2 separate regions of the Homo sapiens genome follow, and region 1 is linked to region 2. The links are contacts of gene promoters, found by promoter capture Hi-C in blood cells and fetal thymus (Javierre and others, 2016). All regions are on one chromosome and are shown on one strand. Each heading gives the region's core, a stretch centred on a gene start or on the middle of the fragment in contact. The rest is flanking DNA. Distances are from core to core; before and after follow the strand shown.

Region 1 (3,273 bases), core at 732-3,231, 160 kb after region 2:
TATATATATATACACATACACACACACACACACACTGGGGGCCCTTCGATCCAAAAGATAGATAGATAGATAGATAGATAGATACACACACACACACACATAAACTCTTATATATGAATATATATTTATATATGTATATCACATATATATTCTGACAATTAGTCTTTCAGCAGTGTAGAGCTGCCAGTAACAATCTCTGTTAATCACTGTAGCCTCTAAATGGTAAAATAATAATAGCAGGCACTTATATAGAACTAACTATGTTAGTGCCCAGATACTGTTCTGAGTATTTTAAAGAGAAAAAACCCTCACTTAATTCTTACAACAACCCTGTGACTTAGGTATTATTATCTCTGCTTTACAGATAAACTAAGGGAGGCATAGATCGATTAAGGAATTTGCCCAAGGTCACTCTGTTATTATGTGAGTGATCTAGGAGGCCCTAGATTCCTAGCTAGTTTGTTTCTTTGACGTTTATATATTCAAGCTAGAAGGACCCTAGTCAAGGGACAACAGTGGGGGCCATTCAATCCAAAAGATCTGTATTTGATTCCAGGCACTAACATTTATACGGCTTAAGGTATGGTTAGTGTGGTTAGAGTAGGGTCAGGCAGGACAGGGTAGGAGAACTATTCTAGGTACTTTAGTGGCTATTTAAAGGATAACATTGCTTGGGAAGGTCAGGGTCATACTAAACAGAAGTCATGCAGTTAGGTTGTCCAGACCCCTCATTTTACTGAGAAGGGAACTTCAGGCCTGAGCAATGGTGGTTTTGCCCAAGGCTGGTCAGCAAGGGGGTGGTGCAGCCTGGGACTAGAATCCATATCTCTTTTCTCTTTGTTCAGAGCACCTTCCAGCGCTGGGCTTCCTACCTACCTTTCTACCTGTCACCTGTCAGTTTTTTTTGTGAATAGTACCAGTACATGAATACTCATATAAGTGATCCTAATTTGAGGTGGGATTTACTGGGCACTGACTGTGTGTTGTGTATGATTACTCATTCGCTCACAAAAGATGATATTTCATTTTGTTTGCCTGGAAAACACCTCTGGTACTTCAGAATTCGTCCAGGTATTCATCACCTCAAAGAATTGTTCGCTTACATTCCTCCCCCACTGCATCCCCCACCAACCGCTCTATCCAAACCTCCCTTGCTGTCATTACATCTGTTCCCATGAATTGCTTGGCCTCTTCTCACGGTGATTAAGAACACAGATTTAGGCATCATACTGCTTAAATTTAGTCCCAGACCCTGCTTCTTACATAGAACAACCTTAAGCAAGCCTTGGTGTATCCATGTGGAAAATTGGGAAAATAATGGTATCACTGCCATTTTGAGAACTGAAATGGGAATTAAGTGAAACAACACATTGAGAGCACTTAGCAAACCCTGGCAAAGGTGAATGTTTAATAGACGTAAGCTGCTTCTATTATCAATTCAAAAATAATGACTATTGTTACTATCTGCAGATAGCTCACCCTCTCTATAAGCGCCTAGGAACAAGGGTTGTCTTGTCCTTAGCATCCCTGGCATATTGTGTTGGGTCATCATTAAATGACTGGTGAATGGAAGACACTGGAAATGACAATTACAGATCCTTTAGTGTGGGTTCTTTGTGTGAAATAGGTTTTACTTCGATCATCCAAGATGACATTTTTTTCTAATTGTTAAGACTTCCTGAAAAAGCTTACTTGGACAGAAATTAATGGTTATCATCATTAAACAAACATTTTTTGTTTCTACTGTACTCGCTTTTCTGAATCCTGGTGGTTTTCCAAAGTACTTGACTTTGGACTGAGAGATTGTTAAAGCAGCAAGTCTCCTGCCTTCACTTGTCCTCTGTTTCCTGCAAGCAGTAGTGTTTGCCGTGTAGAATCCAGCTTCCCTTTCCCCAGTGCATGCCCGTTTTTAGTATGAATGGAAAGGAGTTCACTGCCATGCTGTTTACTTTCTCTAGTCCATCAATAAAGCCATGGAGAAAGACCATGAAGAATACAACATTGGCGTCCTAGACATCTATGGCTTTGAAATATTCCAGGTAAGGCCAGTTTTAATAACTAGGGGTTGAGGAGGGTGACGTATTTCATCTGGCCTGCAAGAAATAATTCTAGGCAATGCAAAAACAAAAAAACAGAAAACAAACCACAACAACAAAAAAAACAACTCAGGCTCATTTTTGCCTTTGTGAGTTCTTCATGTGCCTTTACCAAATTAGTTTCTCCTAAATATAAACTTATTTCTTTTGATGCATCCAACATTTCTATTAAAGCTTTTCACATGAAGACATTTCAATAAATCACTCCAGAAATGACTTTTAAATGATTTTGTGAAAGAATTACATGTGAATAACTTTTTTTTTCCAGAAAAATGGCTTTGAACAGTTTTGTATCAATTTTGTTAATGAAAAACTGCAGCAGATTTTTATTGAACTGACATTAAAGGCAGAACAGGTAAGCAGTCCCTCTTCCTTCATCCTATTCTATTTATAATTTATTTTGTTTAAGAGGGTATAGATTTCTGTCTTTTGTTAATAGATTTCGGTTCCAGTCTTATATTAGGAAATGCATCTAATAAAGTCAGGCAGAAAAACCATATGCCATTGTGGCATTTTAATCTATGAAATATAAATACCGTCTGCAGCATTTGCCTTCTTCTTTAAGCAAATGATGCTGTGATGTTGGAGGTAAGACTGGCTGCTTTTACTCTACTGACTCATTGAGCACGTGGGAAATGGGAGCCTAGTTCCAGCCCCGACTGTCTGTGGCAAATATTGTGTTCCAAATAAAAGACTTGGTTTCCTCAGATCTACGCCATTTTCAATCTTCCCTAACAATACGTGCATTTTTAACAAAGCTGGTATTTGAATACTTACCTGAGGTAACATGCCTTGGTATAGTTTCTTCTAAAGTTCACTGCAGGCTGGGTGCTGTGGCTCGTGCCTGTAATCCTAGCACTTTGGGAGGCCGAGTCGGGAGAATTGCTTGAGCCCGGGAGTTCAAGACCAGCCTGCGGGACAAAATGAGACCCCATCCATACAAAAAAAATAAAATAATTAGCTGGACGTGGTGGCATAAGCCTATAGTCCCAGCTACTCTGGAGGCTGAGGTGAAAGGATTGCTTGAGCCCAGGAGGTCGAGGCTTATATCATCACACCACTGCACTCCATCCTAGGCAACAGAGCAAGACTCTATCTCAAAAATAAATAATAGCCAGGCGCAGTGGCTCATGCCTGTAATCCCTGCACTTTGGGAGGCCGAGACGGGCAGATCACT
Region 2 (3,029 bases), core at 524-3,023:
TTCGATTATATTGTTGCCAAACTATGTAAATGATTACTACAAGAATTTGGACAATATGATTTTCTTTCAACTTTTAAAAGTGAGATATAATGAACGTACCATAAGACTCACCCATTTAAAAAGCATAACACAGTGGTTTTTAGTATATTCATAAACTTGTACAATCATCACCACTAATTCCAGAATATTTTCATCACTTCAATAGGAAAATGCATACCTGTTAGCAATTACTTCCATCTCCCCTCTCCCCCAGCCCCTAGCAAACCACTAACCTACTTTTTATCTCTATAGATTTCCCTATCCTCAACTTTCATTTAAATGGAATTATATAATATGTGGTCTTTTGCTCCTGGCTTAACACGATATTTTCGAGATTCATCCATGTTGTAACATTTTGTTTACCCTTTTAGACAAGATAAAGTTTAATACCCTTTCTAACTCTATGCTCAGATAGTCAAGTGAAGAGCTACAACCAAATTTCTTTTTCCTTTCTTCCTTTCTTCTCTCTCTCTCTCTTTCTTTCTTTCCTTCTTTTTTTTTTTGACAGAATCTTGCTCTGTCGCCCAGGCTGGAGTAGAGTGGAACGATCCCGGCTCCCTGCGACCTCCGCCTCCCCTGTTTAAACGATTCTCGTGCCTCAGCCTCCCGAGTAGCTGAGATTACAGGCATGTATAACCATGCCGGGCTAATTTTTGTATTTTTAGTAGAGAAGGGGTTTCACCGTGTTGGTGGCCAGGCTGGTCTCAAACTCCTGACCTCACGTGATCCACCAACCTCAGCCTCCCAAAGTGCTGGGATTGTAGGCGTGAGCCACAGCGCCCTGCCTCAACCAAATTTCAGAAAGTATCATAATATCATTATGCTTCATAGTTTCTCTATGCCCTGAAGTTTACCAATTTTATCTTCTACAGATTCCAGGAAGGCAGCCTGTTAAGACTCACCAAATTTACTTCCTCAGCCTCCAGAACAATAAAATCAAACTCCCTACCTTGATTTTAAGATTCTGCTTCCCCCCACCCCGCCCCACCCCAATCTTCTCCTTGGATATTCGACAGTCTGGAATAATGCATTTTTACAGTTCTGATTGTTTTCAGCAGATGTGTTGGCTGAGGTTGGATGGGGTTTCTTCCCACCTATCTCTCCTCTCTCCTTCCCTCTGCCCACTGCACGTGCAACAACTTTTCTGCCATCAAAACGTGCAAAAAAGAAACAAGAAAGAAAGGAAAGAGAAAGAAAAGAAAAACAGAAAAAAGAAAAGAAAAAGCAGCCGGAAGTCTTCCTTTGTTTTCCAAGGAAATTCAGGTAAAAGGAGGGGTGGGGAAATGATATTTTTGACTTTGCTCACAATCCAGACGTAGGAAAGAAAAAGGATTTCCTTTGGGCTGCTGCCACGACTCTGATGTTTTATGCTGATAAAATATTTCCTTCTTAAAAAAAAGTTCTGGGAAAATCATGCCCCTTCAACTTGGAAGCGAAACCCACCCTAACTTTCGTCTTAAAACGCAGCGAAGTGAAAGGTTTGCTCCTCTTTCACGAGGGTTTTGTTCCTTACAGTTCGGGTCTTGCTACCAGGAGCGAGCTGGGTCCGCAGCGTTCTTCGGTGGCTGGCGCGGGAGGAGGACTACAGGATCCAGAGATCTTTGGAAACTCCAGCAGCTCCAAGCTTGTTGGCTACTACGGTTTCCCTGAGGAGTGACGCTACGAAAACAAACCCTGATTGGTCAGGCCTGAGCTGAGTTCTCCATTTATGGACAGATTGCCCGGCCCGAGCCGAGACTCAGCCAGAGGAGTACGGATTAAGTGGCCGAAGAAAGAGGAGTGAGGCAGGGGAGCGAGGCGGACGCTCCGAGCGCATCGGACTCACCTGGGCCGGCGGCGACCGGCGAGTACGAGTGGACTCTTGCCCTCCGCAGCATGCGCCCCGCCTGCTAAGTCGCCGCCGTCTCGCCCTCACCTAGCACCGCCAATCCCGCCTGGATGGAGTCCCCTCTGGGTTCCCATTGGCTCCTGTGAGTGCTTGGGTGTCGGGAGCCTGTTTTTGGCGAGGGGAACCAACTTTTGAAGTTCGCCCAGAAGACTGCGTTCCAGCCCCAGTTCCCCGGCAGCGGGACCCGGCGAAGACGCGACCGCGGCGCGAGTCACCATGGTGAGTTGGCCGCGCCGCGTCCTAGGACGCCGGACCCGGGGACGGGGCAGGAAACCCCGGCGTGGTGCACCCACCTTGGGCGCGCTGCCGGGGCCAGGGGTGGAGAAGGTGGACGCGGGAGCCGGCACGTCGCGAGCTCTGATTTCCTGCCGCTTTCCGTAAACCCGGGCCGGGGGAGAGCGAGCGAGGGGCCAAGGAAAACTTTATTCCAAGTCGGTTTCTGCGTCGCGAAACTTTCTGTGGCCGGGTTGCTATGGCTGCCAGCTGTCGGAAGCCAGGGTGTGGGCGCATCGGCTGCGAGGGGCACGGCGCGGGAGGGGGTCCCCTCCTCCTGCTGGGACGTGGGGGGCGCAGCCGGCAGGGGAGGTGCTCGGAGACTCGCGCCGCAGCCGCTGGCGGCGTCCCCTGCCCTCCCCGCGGCCGTGCCCGCCCCGCCCCGGGCACCCTCGCGCCGACTCCCTCTCCTCCCCGCCGCCGCTCCGCTGCCCGGCAGCGCCCGCAGCTGTCCCGCCTGGCAGCGGCACGCGGGCGGGGGCGGTCCCTGGCCCGCCTTGGCGAGGGGCGGCGCGGGCCGCACAAAGGCAGGCGGGGGCGCCAGGTAGGGCGAGCACCTGGCGGCCGGCGGGCTGTCAAGAGCCAGGGAGACTCGGGCGCGGGCGGCAACCACGCCGCCCCGGACCTGTGCCGGGCGCCGGCCCCGAGGGTCTCCGCGCCCCGGACGCCAAGTAAACACCTCCTGAAGAGGACCCCACCCCTTCCCAAGCGCGAGGGGATCGGGGCTTTTCGGGGATCCAGGGGACGCTTCGCACGGGAAGACGCCCTCGCGAGTTTCGAGTTTGTTGCTGTTTTCCCTTTGGCACTTTGGGAATGTGTGGAAGGGGCC

Evidence for each region. Contacts are between HindIII fragments. The CHiCAGO score rates a contact against its expected background, and 5 or more counts as called.
Region 1: a contact is called between a fragment that was not itself captured here and the fragment with the promoter of MYO1E in region 2, in 7 of 17 cell types (M2 macrophages, M0 macrophages, endothelial precursors and 4 more). The highest score is 10.5, in M2 macrophages.

What each region holds. Positions count from the first base shown.
Region 1 is chr15:59,213,406-59,216,678 of GRCh38, reverse strand. MYO1E (myosin IE) reads left to right here. Exons shown (of 28, transcript NM_004998.4): 11 at 1,959-2,039; 12 at 2,365-2,451. Among named protein-coding and RNA genes, the nearest start is that of LDHAL6B, 8.2 kb to the right of the region's middle. The HindIII fragment of the contact is 583 bases long and covers 1,690-2,272 here.
Region 2 is chr15:59,371,615-59,374,643 of GRCh38, reverse strand. It overlaps MYO1E (myosin IE), which reads left to right and starts at 1,773. Exons shown (of 28, transcript NM_004998.4): 1 at 1,773-2,146. The coding sequence starts at 2,144. RefSeq lists enhancers at 1,485-1,989, 1,990-2,493 and a silencer at 2,509-2,828. The HindIII fragment of the contact is 5,897 bases long and covers 1,666-3,029 here.